Regions from separate parts of the Homo sapiens genome. Here all the other regions are linked to region 1. Evidence: promoter capture Hi-C in 16 types of primary human blood cells and fetal thymus (Javierre and others, 2016). All regions are on one chromosome and are shown on one strand. The core of a region is centred on a gene start or on the middle of the fragment in contact, and the rest is flanking DNA. Distances in the headings are between cores, read along the strand shown.

Region 1 (2,546 bases), core at 20-2,519:
CTGTTTCAGGTTTAGCCCAAAAACATAAAAAGGAGAATAGTAGTAGCAAAGAATAAATGCATTAACTCATCGGCCCACAGGTTTCCCCTGAAATACACATCAGCACGGCTGGAGAGATTGCAAATTAGGGAATGAAAACATAAAAATCAAAAAGGATCAGCTAACTCCAGGGGGAAAAAAATTTCCCCTAGCAGAAGGTTATATCTTGTGGTCACACTACAGACCAGGTCATCCTTGCAGCAGGCATTCAAGCTTGTTCTGAGTTGAATGTAAGGATGCAAGCTCCATCCAACTCAACCCCAAAAATCCGAGTTCAACCTTAACATTTTCAAGAAACATTAGCCCTAGATGTAATTTCGGATACAAAACCAAAAAACAAAAACCTTCTCACCCAAAGGTCGGCCACCATGAAGCCCATGGGCCCAGAGGGAGTACCCGGTAGTTTCAGGCCGCTCGCTTATCTTCCTTTTAAAGAGACCTTGAGGCACCAGTCCTGCCTCCAAACGAAATCCTATTCGGCGCTACCCTCTCTGGAGGAGCCCATTCTTACCCTGCACTAACAACTGCACGGGACTTAACGACTCCACCACCCACCAACTCCTCCAAAAGGGAGAGACACAGCCAAAGCATCCCACTGGGGCGTTCTCTTTCGCACACGGACGCTCCCGCACTCCCTGGCCCTTTCTGGAGCGACGCTCCCCGACTGCCATCTCCGCGATGAAGACAGCCTGTGCCCCACTGCCTGGGACGAGGGTTCCAGCCCCGGCTACTTCACTACTTAGACCTGTCACTTTACTCTCTGCACCTATACTCTCTGGACCTCCGGATCCTCATTTGTTCAAACCTAACTGCCTGTCTGGTTCGTGTTAAACGAGAAAGCACCCGCCCCAGCCCCGCAGCGGGCCCGCCCCAACCGCCTGCTGACTGGCACCCTAGGGGAATGCGGCGGAGAGTGGAGCCGGTGGAAACGCAGGGCAACGCCGCGGGGGCTTGTGGGGCTGGCCCCACGGGGCGGGCTCTTGCCGCCCCCCGCGTATCCCCGCAGCTTGCCGCTCACCCCGCCGCCGCTGACCGCGCCGATGCCGTCGAACTCCCGGCCCAGCCCGTCGGAGTCGTCGAGCACGTACGCGCCGCCGGGCGCCAGCAGCGCACACAGCAGCAAGGGCACCGCGGCGCGGCCCGCCGAACCCGCGGCCGCAGTCATAGCTTTCGCTCGGCGTTGCCAGGAAGCCGAGAGTAGCCACTCAGCCATTGTGTGGGTCACATGACTCCGGCGCCCAGGGAGGCGGGTCCCGTCGCCGCCACGATAGATACGGGCAGGAGGCCGCTGATGCTGACGCCGCCGCCGCCATTTTGAGTGCGGGTCAAGGGCCTCTGACGCAGCTGGCGGAGTGTTGAGAAAAGAAGCAGCGAGCTTTTTCTTATCGCTCGCGTGTCTGTGGTCAGCTACTGGATTTCACATGTACTTACTGCTGGCTTCTCTTCCGGCGTCACCTGGTGGAGCACTTTAACGCAGGGAAGGTGGATTCCAAGGTCCGCCAAAGGAAGAGGGCCATGAGTGGCCCTACCATGGCTCTTCCCCAGCATCTCAGGGAGTATCTACCTCGTGCGAGGACCAGGCTTGGACACCAGGTCCCGATTCCATTGTCATCTTGGTGGAATCACTTTGCTTTTGGAGCCTGAGTTTTCCCTTATGTGAGATGAGGCGAGAAGAGCAGCAGAGTGAGGGACTGAGAGAAAAGTTAATAAGCACTCAGTACATTTGAATGCATTCCACAAGTGGCAAATAGCTGAGAAGGTTCTCCAGTCTGGTAACTACCCCGGCATATTCAAAGCTTTTAGCCTTGAAGGAGTTAATAATATACCACCTCAAAATATGCTGCTGTGGCATATTGACTATTTTAAATTAAAGGCACTTAAAAACAGCAGGTGCAAGATCACTGTCATGGATATTATGTGTCTTAAAAGGAGGAGATGAAATTCCCATGTGAAAGATGTCTTCCCTATAAAATAACATTGTTATCTTCAAGGACAGAAAGTTGAAGTCGAGGGAAATCTGTCCAAACAAAATTTGTTAATCCCTATCTTTCTAGTCGCTTCTTTACCCCAAGCCCCTTCGCCTTATCATGTTTCACAACTACTATTTTTTGTCCATTTCACTCTATAAGCAATTGGCTCTTAACTGCTGCTTTAGGTCTTTTTTTTTTTTAATGAGGGCCCCCGTGCTATGTAAAATAAACATTTGTGTGGTTGTCTCCTGTCAGTCTATTAATATCTTAAATCAATTTAATACTAGGGCCATGCTGGGACCCTACAGGGACGAAGGTGAAATTTTGCCTCCCCTACAATTTTATAAACTATCTTCCACTGTCAGTTGAAGTGATTCCAGACAGGTAACTCTAAATTGGTAGGAAAGTTGTGAATTGCCCTGAATTTCTGCCACATCCAGCACTGTCCTGAGATTTCTGATTTCCTTGTTATTGAAGTAAATTAAAGAGACTCTGAAGAGCTGCAGAGAAAGATTTTCTGATCCCCAAATTTCTCTT
Region 2 (2,546 bases), core at 25-2,524, 7.1 Mb before region 1:
TATCATCCCCATTTTACAGAAAACAGAACTAAGGCTTAAAGGAGCAAAGTAACTTAAGTGGCAGAGCCAGGATTCAAATCCAGGCAAGAAGACTATTTCCGAAACCCAACTTTTTAATCAGTACACTTGTTACATGTAAATGGCAGTGGTGAGAAAGCAAAAAACAAAAACAAACAAACAAATGAAAAACAGGTATACCAATGAGTAAAGGTACTCTTCCCTAAAAGCAAAATAAGCTGATAAGAATAAAGTGCTTGGCTGGGCACAGTGGCTCATGCCTATAATCCCAGCACTTTTGGAGGCCAAGGTGGGTGGATCACTTGAGGTCAGGAGTTCAAGACCAGCCTGGCCAGCATGGTGAAACCCTGCCTCTACTAAAACTACAATAATTAGCTGGGTGTGGTGCTGAGCACCTGTAATCCCTGCTATTTGAGAGGCTGAGGCAGGAGAATTGTTTGAACCCAGAAGGCAGAGGTTGCAGTGAGCCGAGATTGCACCACTGCACTCCAGCCTTCTGGAGTAAGACAGAGTAAGAGTCTGTCTCAATAAATAAATAAATAAATAAATAAATAAATAAATAAATAAATAAAAATAAAGTACTTATTGTTGTATTCAAGCTATGAGTCCCCCCACCAAAAAAAAAAAAAAAAAAAAAACAGAACACACATGAGCTAGCTTAAGTGAAACAGAAATTAATCGTTTTTAAAGAATACAATAATGATGGTAGTGGTGGTGGTGGTCATCATGGTAGAAGCCAAAATAAGCAATAATACTAATAATTCAACAATTAAATGGCCCTTTTCTGTGCCAGGCTCTGTTCTAAGCACTTTACTTGTATTAACTAATGTAACCCCAACAGTAGCCCTAGAGTAAACATAGCTGTAATCAATATGACAGGTAAGGAAACAACTTCCAAAAGTTAACTTGCCCAAACTCAAAAAAGTAGAAAGCTTTCTTACACACAGACATCTCTATTCCATAACCAAAACCTAGCAGGCTCAGTTCCAGGCTGTATTTTTGCTCTAATTTCATCAGGAGTCCACCCTGCTCCAGCACTTCAGAGCAGGAGACAGAATCAAATGGACCAGTGCCTGGGAAGTACAGAATTAAAGCTCATCCATTCATTCATGAGCACATTCGTTCACAAGCACTTATTCATCCATTCATGAGCACCTGTTTCACAGCAAACCCTGTATGCAGAGTAGATTCTAAATGTTTATCAGGCCAGGCACAGTGGCTCAGGCCTGCAATCACAGCACTTTGACAGGCCAAAGTGGGAGGATCACTTGAACCTGGGAGGTCGAGGCTGCAGTGATCCAAGATGACACCACTGCACTCCAGCATGAGTTACAGAACAAGACTTCATCTCAAAAGAAAGAGAGAAAGAGAGGAAGGAAGGAAGACAGGGAAGGAGGGAAGGAGGGATGGGAAAATGTTTATCAGAATGAATTAAATGGATTCATGTAACCACAAATACTCCCATCTCCCAAATACCCCAAGCACTAGCATTATAGAAATTTCAGAGAGGTGTGCATATCCGATAAAGGCCTGACAAGTCTCTGAGTCATTCATAATTAGTGATAACAAGATACCAGAAACAAGCTTTAAAAACTAAAAGAAAAACTCACAAAAATATTTGCATTATATGGGAACCAAAGGGTTAATCAGCTCTTTCAAAAACACAAGAAAAAGAACAGTCCAGTTGTAAAAGACTCAAAAGATACATAAGCAGACAATTCACAGAAATCAAATGACCCTAACAAATGTTATTTGTTATTTCACTAAATAATTACAAATTAAAATAATAAAATGATATTCTTATCTATCTGTTTTATACAGATGAAAAAACCTCTCACTCGCAGGGTTAGCAAGGTTATACCTTGTTGTAAGAGTATTAACTATAAAAACTACATTAGCATGTATATCTACTATGTACCCACAAAAATTAAAAATTTAAAAAAAAAAAACCACATTAGCTTTTCTGGAGAACAACCTGGCAATACAAGTAAAAATAAATAATACGGGCCAGGCGCAGTGGCCCATGCCTGTAATCACAGTATTTTGGGAGGCCAAGGTAGGAGGATTGCTTGAGCCCAAGCGTTCGAGATGAGCCTGGGCAACACAGTGAGACCTTGTCTCTACAAAAAAATAAAACAAAATTAGCCAGGTGTGGTAGTGCACACCTGTAGTCCTAACTACTCGGGAGGCTGATGTGAGAGGATTTCTCAAACCTGGGAGGTAGAGGCTACAGTGAGCCAAGATAGCACCACTGCACTTCAGCCTGGGTGACAGAGTGAGACCCTGTCTCAATCAATCTGTAATATACATAGACGTTGACCCAGAAAATCTATTTCTATGACTATTAACCTAGGAAGATAAAATATTTATATATATTTTATGTATAGACATATGCATAAGAATTTCACTGTAGAAATTCTTCAGAAATTTTAATTCACTCATCCATTCATCCATGAGCACATTCATTCACTCCAGCCTGGGCAACAGAGTGAATGAATTTTTTTACAGTTGTAAAAGAATAAGAAAAA
Region 3 (2,546 bases), core at 23-2,522, 7.0 Mb before region 1:
AATGTGGAGGTATCAGAGTTTGTTTATCCATTATCTAGTCGCGAGACACTTGGTTCGTTTAGTGGTTATGAATAAAGCTTCTGTAAAATTTGGAATACACATATTTTAAATGTACGGTTTAATGAATTTTGATAAATGTATACATCCACTTAACCTCCAGCCTAATTACGATATGGAAACCCTGTGTGTTCCCTCCTGTCTTTTTCTAGTCAATCTTTCCTAACCTTTATTCTGATTCCCATAACCACAACTTTTTCCTTCCTGTCCTAGCCAAGTTCATATAAAAGGAATTATGCAGTATAGAAGGAATTGACATTCCTTTTATCCCAAGAGGAATAAGTGATTGAAGACTTTTAAGAAGGAAATAGGCACAATCTGATTTATGTTTGTAATGATCTTTTTGGCTACTGTGCGAAGAATGGTGAGTATGCCACTTAAGTATTATTTTTCTTCCCATCTTCCAGGGGGAATATGACTCAATGAAATTCTTGGGTCGACCAGAATTTCCATACTGGACCCATTATTAAGGGAACCTGGAATTATTTCTGCCATTCCCGATTCTTCCCAGCAGATGGCCCCAAAGTTCAGTTCCTGAATTGCCTCGCGGAGCCGCGGGCTGCAACGTGAGGCGGCCGCTGCCAGTCGACTCAACCACCGGAGTGGCCCCTGCAGTTGGATAGCAACGAGAATCCTCCAGGGGTGCAGGGCGACGGCTTCGGCCGCACCGCGGGCTAGCCAGGGCTGCGTGCCCGCCTCTGACCCTCAGCAGAGGTGTCTCTGGCCAGGAGGAGCTGAAGTTCTGCAGGACATTGGTCCGCCCGCGGACAGTCCACTCCGCGGGGACTTTCTCTGGATAAGGAGTGCGTGCGAGTGGCTCCCAGGCAGACAGGGTGTCTAGAAGGCTACACGCTAGGGAAGGTGGCTCCTTGGATTTAAAGAGGAGGAAAGGAGGGGGCATCTAAACTAGGCTTTGGAGAGAACTAATGGGAGGGGCGCCCGGGGTGGGGGGGCGGGCTGGAAAACAGAGGGGACAGCCAGGACTGGTGTTGGGTGTCAGGGAACAGACGGAGCGGACTGCGTGGGTCCAGCCAAGGAAAGTGAAGCAAGCAGACTTGTTTGGGTCAAGGTTGCCTAGGGAAGCGGAGCACTTAAGTGCCTCTTTTTCCCCTTCTCCAGCCTCCTCCACAGTGGTGAGGTCACAGCCCCTTGGAGCCCTCCCTCTTCCCACCCCTCCCGCTCCCGGGTCTCCTTTGGCCTGGGGTAACCCGAGGTGCAGAGCTGAGAATGAGGCGATTTCGGAGGATGGAGAAATAGCCCCGAGTCCCGTGGAAAATGAGGCCGGCGGACTTGCTGCAGCTGGTGCTGCTGCTCGACCTGCCCAGGGACCTGGGCGGAATGGGGTGTTCGTCTCCACCCTGCGAGTGCCATCAGGAGGAGGACTTCAGAGTCACCTGCAAGGATATTCAACGCATCCCCAGCTTACCGCCCAGTACGCAGACTCTGTGAGTACCCGGGAGAGATCAGGGTAGGACCCAGAGATCAAGGGCATCTGCAGAGGTGGCCCGAAGTGCACAAAAGCAGCTCAATAACAGCCCGAAGTAGTGTGTGAGTGTGTGTATGTGTGAGTGAATGTCTGTGTGTGTAGATGTGTGTGTGTGCTAAAAACTTAATCGCCCACACTTGGGAAGGTATCATTGTTGACATCCTCATTCCCAACACAGGAAAATGTTACAAAACTTTGGTGTACAATGACCGTGAGAGCTGTTCTTTCCAACAAGCTGCTATTCAGCACTTTGCCTAACCCTGGTTGAATCTGTTTTATTTGAATTAATAAGGATAATGGCATCTCAGGAACTGACCTTTTTGATCTTACCTTGGGTAATAAAAAATTGCAAAAATATGTATTTCTCCTTTTTGTTTCTCTAGATGGGAGGTTATCTTAGCAGTTCTGCTGATTCATCAAATTGTTGACAAAGGTTTAAGCAGGGGCCCTTTTTAAAATGAACTGTCTATACAGTATCTGTAAGTTACTTACTCAAATGTGAACTGCCAGTGAAATAGTACGTCCAGAACCCTGCTTTGTGATAGAGGTATAAAGAAATGAAATTTCATAAAAGTATAGTACATTTATCTGCATGTTAAATGTTACCAGATTAGAAACCTGATGTTAAATAAGATTATACACACACAACCTGTTTCTTAACAGCAATTTAAATCAGTGATCATTGAAATTGTAGACAAAACCAAGGGAATAAAGTCTGTCTTGATTAGTTAAAAAGAGAACAGAAAGAAAGGACAGTAAAACAACCTAGGCTGGTTAAATCCAGTTAAGATAAAAAAAAATGCAGGTTATTAAAGAAAATGTTGATAGATGAAAAGAAATGGGAAAGTTGCACCTCTAGATTTTCTCAAGAATTTAGCTCATGAAGACTATTTAACAGTAGATGAATATTTGAGCACAGAGATATATTTCTGTGCTCAGAGATATCCTAGTGTCTTAGCACACCTGAATTAATTAGTTCAATAACCTCCAAACAGTGTGGTAG
Region 4 (2,546 bases), core at 13-2,512, 6.0 Mb after region 1:
GTGCTCAATGTGCATTTGGGGGGAGAAGAATTTCATTAAACATTCTTTTTTTTTTTTTTTTTTTTTTTTTGAGATGGAGTCTCGCTCTGTCGCCCAGGCTGGAGTGCAGTGGCGGGATCTCGGCTCACTGCAAGCTCCGCCTCCCGGGTTCACACCATTCTCCTGCCTCAGCTTCCCAAGTAGCTGGGACTACAGGCGCCCGCCACTACGCCCGGCTAATTTTTTGTATTTTTAGTAGAGACGGGGTTTCACCGTTTTAGCCGGGATGGTCTCGATCTCCCGACCTCGTGATCCGCCTAAACATTCTATCTAAGGGGTTTTTCTTCCCAGCAGGGCCCAAGCCCAGCCTCCTTCCAGAGGCGAAGGCGCAGAACCGAACCTAGGAGGTTTCAGGTCACTCCTAGAGTAACAAGATGCAGGTTGACCCTCCTCTGCTATATTGCTTGTGGGGCTGGACCTCAGATGAGGGCTGCTCGACCTGGGAGAAATGGTCTCAATTCTCTAGGAGAGCTTTTTCCGCAGGAAGCTGAATAAATGTTCATGGCCCACTGTGGGCCTCCATTTCCTTACCCTCCAGATGAAGGCAGAGTCAGGGTCTGGATGCCGAGGGCCCACTTCTTTCTAATGTGTCCAAGCATCCCTGGGACTCCTGAGGGGGCTCCTATGCTGGGGAGAAGGCTGCAGACACCTGAGGGGACGTGCTGGCTTCATGCAGCAGGCCCTGTCTTCAGAGGAAGGATGCCCTATCTCTATCTGACCCCCTCCTGAGGAAGAGGAACTTGTGGCCTGTCTTCCGCTGAACCGGCCAGAACAGGAACCAGGGCCACCTTGAGCATGAGCCAAGATGAACCCAGTCCTTGGCTTCAGGTTTCTGTTTCTCAGATTGGGTTTCAGAATGGAACGTCCTCGGGGGCAGCTTAGTAACCTGGAGTCTTCGTACTCTTTCCGGCTGCCCAAAGTAGCTGCCTGCCTTCCCCTTTAAAAGGGGCTCCTCAGCTCTGGGCCTCTGCCCAGCCAGCCTGACAGAGATGGTCCAGCCTCGGCAAGGGCAAAGTCACTTAGGGGACAGGGCTGAGATGCACCATCACCCACCTTCATCCCCTGTCAACTGTGACTGCACATCGGAAAAAGTCTGTTTGTTGTTGTTGTTATTTGAGAAGGAAGCTGAGGTTTTCAGAGGTTAAGTGACTTGCCTGAGGTCACGCAGGGAGCCAGCTGGCTGCTGTACACAATGAGATTTGTGGCCTATGCCTCAAAGTAACACCAACACAATTGTCACAGCAATTCCCATGCCCTGCCATTCATGCCCAAACACACTTGACCTTGGCTGGGGACGGGGGTGAGGAGCAAAAGCAATTTTATGGCTTATAGAGGTCTTTTCCAAATGCATTTTGAGATCAATCACCGCTCTGCTTAATCACCTCTCTAGCTCCCACCTCCTACAAAGGAGGTGTCGTCTAGATCTGCACCGTCTGATAAGGTAGTCATTGGCCACATGTGCTAGGGAGCGCTTGAAACGTGGCCAGTCTGAATCAAGATGGGCTGTGAGTGTAAAATACACACTGGATTTCAAAGACTTGATGGGCAAAAAGAAATGGTAACAATCTGATTCATAATTTTATATTGATGGAAATATAAGTCTCTTGGTGGAAATGGTGATACTTCAGATGTGAACTATCAATGAAAATTAATTTCACCTGTTTCTCTTTACTTTTTTGGCTGTTGGAACCTTTAAAATTGCATCCGTGCATTGCAGTTGTGGGTGGTGTCATATCTGGATGGCGCTGCTTTAGAAAGTCCTGTGACTGAGAGGATGAGGTGGGGCTGAGAGTGGGGAGCCAGAAGAAGGAGACAGGATGGCTCTGCTGGGCAGACATCCCTTGCTCACCAGATATGTTTTTCAAGGGAGGCTGTGTTGTAAGATAGGGAGCCAGGCAGCTCTGATCTCGGCAGCATTATCTACTGGCTATGTGACCTCGGGCCTCTTTTTCAGCCCTGAGCTTCAGTCTCCTCTTTTAAATGGGTCTATAACCCAGAGCCCACTGAGAGGGTCCTTAAGCGGATGAAAGGAGGCAGAGTGTGTATAGCACCCACTTCAGTACCTGGCACAGCCAGAGCTTGGTAAGTTCAGATAACAAATGTAAATGGGAAAGGTGTGAAAAGCAACCTAGAGACCAGGATACCGTGGTTTTGGATTAACAGCATTAGGGATCTACAGTCTGTGGATGTCCTGGATGGCCCCACTTCCCTCATCAGCCTCGCCTTGCTCACCTGGTCCATGGGTAGAAATGGGCAGGTTGGCGGTTGGTACATGCAGACGCGGTGGCCTCAGCAGTGGTTGGGCCCCTTGTCTTGTCCGCTAGGCTCTGCTCGATGGCCATCTGCACCAGTTCATCCTCGCTCAGGCTGCTGTACAGGCTGTACTCCTCCTGCCCAATGGTACACTGGCTGCCCCGAGTGCTGATCTGCGTGGCCATCCTCCTCCACCTCTCACCCTGGCCTCCAGAACAGACACCCAGTGGGGAGGAGGGAACAGCAAATCAGAA
Region 5 (2,546 bases), core at 30-2,529, 5.3 Mb after region 1:
TCGATCAATGCAACCTGGTACATGGGATTCTAAACACCGTATTGAGAGGGCCGACTTTTCTTATACTCACATTCCACAGGACGGACAGGCAGACTTGAGTATGCTTGGATTGGGGTATATGTGGTGGGTCCTGGAACCAATCCCACGTATATAGTATATGGGGGATGACTGTATTGCATTAACTGAAAGAGCTATGATTAGCAAACTAAAAAGCGGTGTGTAAACACTGCTTCTTTATAATTTATGGAAATGTTAAATAAGATCAGTCCCCACTGTTTACACTTATTACTAACCTTTATTACTTGACTTTGCTTCTATTTCCTAGCCACAATTTAAAAAACAAAATTAAAATGGTATCAACAACAATAGAATTCTAAGTAATTTCAGGATAACACTTTTTCTAACAGCCTTTGATGTGGAAATCTAAAACTTTTTGAAAAGCCAAGTAAGGTCTGCTGGTTGCACCTTGTCCTTTTGTCTATCTGCACAGCTGGAGACTTCTAGTAGACTGTTTGGATCTAGAAACCATTTGTAAGTGATCCATGATTTTTTTCTACCCTTTAATTCATTCACTGTTTCCTTATTATACCATTTAACTGTACTTTTGAGATCCTGAATTAGCTCAGTTTACACACTCATCAGAATTTAGATGTTTATTTTAGTTCAGTCCGATACACATTTAAAGTATCCAGTACCATGTGCCAAGCACGGTACTACATGCTGGGGGTAAAAAATAAATGGATCTTTGTACTTAAGGAGCTTAGAATCTAAATAAGAAGACAGAGTGAAAAACATTTTTTTAAGGCTAGTGTTAAGATGGTACTAAGTAGTGGTTAACAGCATGCATTCTAGAATCAGATAGATCTGGATGGCCATATGACACAAATAGGTCAACCAGAACCTTTTCTGGAAATTTTTGCCACACTCTCAGAGGAGATGTTTCTTCTTACTCTATTTCTCCGGGATTATGACTCGAAAGGACATGTAAATTGGCTTTGTTTGCCAATGAGGAGAAAGCCATGTGCGGTAGGAAAGGAGGAAGACCATAAACAAAGAAACAAAGTGAGAGAAAGGAAAACCATGACATCATTTGAATACCTGGGCCTACCTGGGCCTGAAACCAACCCATCCCTGGTCTTTTCATTTTTAGAAGCCATTAAGTTGCCCTAACACCTCTTTTTATCTTAAGTTAGTTGGAAATGGGTAAAAACAGTGAACTTCTGTGGCTTTCAACCAAAAGTCCTGAATTTATGTTTTGTTCCTTTCTCCACTCCCTCCATCAGTGAATGGCATCCCATCCACCTGGTCATCTATGTTGAAAATAAGAGTAATCAACATTTCATGGTATATTCCATGGTCTGTCACTCCAGTCTTTTCCTTCCTTTGTACCCCCCTTTTTTACCACACATAACCATCCACTGAAACCCATTCCCACACTCATCTTCCTGGAAATACAGGATGGAAGCTGGGTTTTTGAAATTAAGGAGAAAAGACAAATTTTATCTCCCCCTATTTCTCTGCATGTAACAATCCTGTTTTCATGCATTTTTCTGAATTTCCTGAAGTCTAAAAGGTGAAGAGGATTGAAAACCCCAGAACAGTGATAAGTACCTTGTAGATGCTTAATTAAGAAGTGCTTAATAATTATTCAATTTTCAATTTTTTTTTTTCTTGAGACAGAGTCTTGCTCTGTCACCCAGGCTGGAGTGCAATGACGCAATCTCAGCTCAGTGCAACCTCCGCCTCCTGGGTTCAAGTGATTCTCCTGCCTCAGCCTCCCGAGTAGCTGGGATTACAGGTGCGTGCCACCATGCCTGACTAATTTTTTGTATTTTTAGTAGAGACAGGGTTTCACCATGTTGGCCAGGCTGGTCTCAAACTCCTGACCTCGTGATCCGCCCACCTTGGCCTCCCAAAGTGCTAGGATTACAGGCGTGAGCCACTGCACATGGCCTTAATAATTATTAAATTAACAAATAATACAATTAATAAAGGTTTTAGAAAATAATATTGGAAAATATTCATTGCCTTGGGGAAGAAAAGACAAGCAAGTCACAGAAAACATTAATCATGAAGACAAGATTCATAGATTCAACTGTATTTAAAATATGAACTTAAGTGCATCAAAATGTACTGATATGGTTTGGATGTTTGTCCCCTCCAAATCTCATGTTGAAATGTAATCGCCAGTGTTGGAAGTGGGACCTGGTGGGAGGTGTTTGGATCATGAAGGCAGATCCCTCATGAATGGCTTCACACTATCCCCTTGTGATGGTGGTGGGAGGCAGACAGGTTCCTAGGTGGGAAGGGGTGGGTCCCTGGTGAAACCCCACCTTCAAACCAGAGATGGCCTAAAGCCTGGGGGCCAGGCTGCCAGTTCCCAGTGAAGTCCACGACCTGGAGTGAGAACTTCCTTGATGCCTTTCAGCCAATAAAGTAGTGCTTTTTCCAGGCCCGCCCACAGACCAATTAGCATGCATTTCTTCCTGCCCATGGACCAATCAGCATGCACTTCATTCTGAGCCAATAAAAACCCCCAGACCCAG

The links. Contacts are between HindIII fragments. The CHiCAGO score rates a contact against its expected background, and 5 or more counts as called.
Region 2: a fragment that was not itself captured here is called in contact with the fragment with the promoter of GALC in region 1 in 1 of 17 cell types (total CD4 T cells); the score reaches 5.2 in total CD4 T cells.
Region 3: a contact is called between the fragment with the promoter of TSHR here and the fragment with the promoter of GALC in region 1, in 1 of 17 cell types (total B cells). The highest score is 6.5, in total B cells.
Region 4: a contact is called between a fragment that was not itself captured here and the fragment with the promoter of GALC in region 1, in 4 of 17 cell types (total B cells, non-activated CD4 T cells, activated CD4 T cells and 1 more). The highest score is 5.7, in total B cells.
Region 5: a contact is called between a fragment that was not itself captured here and the fragment with the promoter of GALC in region 1, in 1 of 17 cell types (total B cells). The highest score is 6.2, in total B cells.

The regions. Positions count from the first base shown.
Region 1 is chr14:87,991,913-87,994,458 of GRCh38, forward strand. It overlaps GALC (galactosylceramidase), which reads right to left and starts at 1,270. Exons shown (of 17, transcript NM_000153.4): 1 at 1,058-1,270. The coding sequence starts at 1,252. RefSeq lists a silencer at 938-1,127 and enhancers at 1,083-1,583, 1,278-1,607. The HindIII fragment of the contact is 1,583 bases long and covers 251-1,833 here.
Region 2 is chr14:80,935,013-80,937,558 of GRCh38, forward strand. All of the region lies in intron 2 of CEP128 (centrosomal protein 128), which reads right to left. Among named protein-coding and RNA genes, the nearest start is that of CEP128, 5.5 kb to the right of the region's middle. The HindIII fragment of the contact is 652 bases long and covers 949-1,600 here.
Region 3 is chr14:80,954,349-80,956,894 of GRCh38, forward strand. TSHR (thyroid stimulating hormone receptor) reads left to right here and starts at 1,273. Exons shown (of 10, transcript NM_000369.5): 1 at 1,273-1,502. The coding sequence starts at 1,333. It also overlaps a transcript of CEP128 not described here. The HindIII fragment of the contact is 2,816 bases long and covers 76-2,546 here.
Region 4 is chr14:93,962,063-93,964,608 of GRCh38, forward strand. It overlaps ASB2 (ankyrin repeat and SOCS box containing 2), which reads right to left. Exons shown (of 10, transcript NM_001202429.2): 2 at 2,272-2,546. The coding sequence starts at 2,477. Among named protein-coding and RNA genes, the nearest start is that of ASB2, 13 kb to the right of the region's middle. RefSeq lists enhancers at 420-920, 921-1,421. The HindIII fragment of the contact is 4,504 bases long and covers 1-2,546 here.
Region 5 is chr14:93,334,687-93,337,232 of GRCh38, forward strand. It overlaps a transcript of UNC79 not described here. Among named protein-coding and RNA genes, the nearest start is that of BTBD7, 2.9 kb to the left of the region's middle. The HindIII fragment of the contact is 3,744 bases long and covers 1-2,546 here.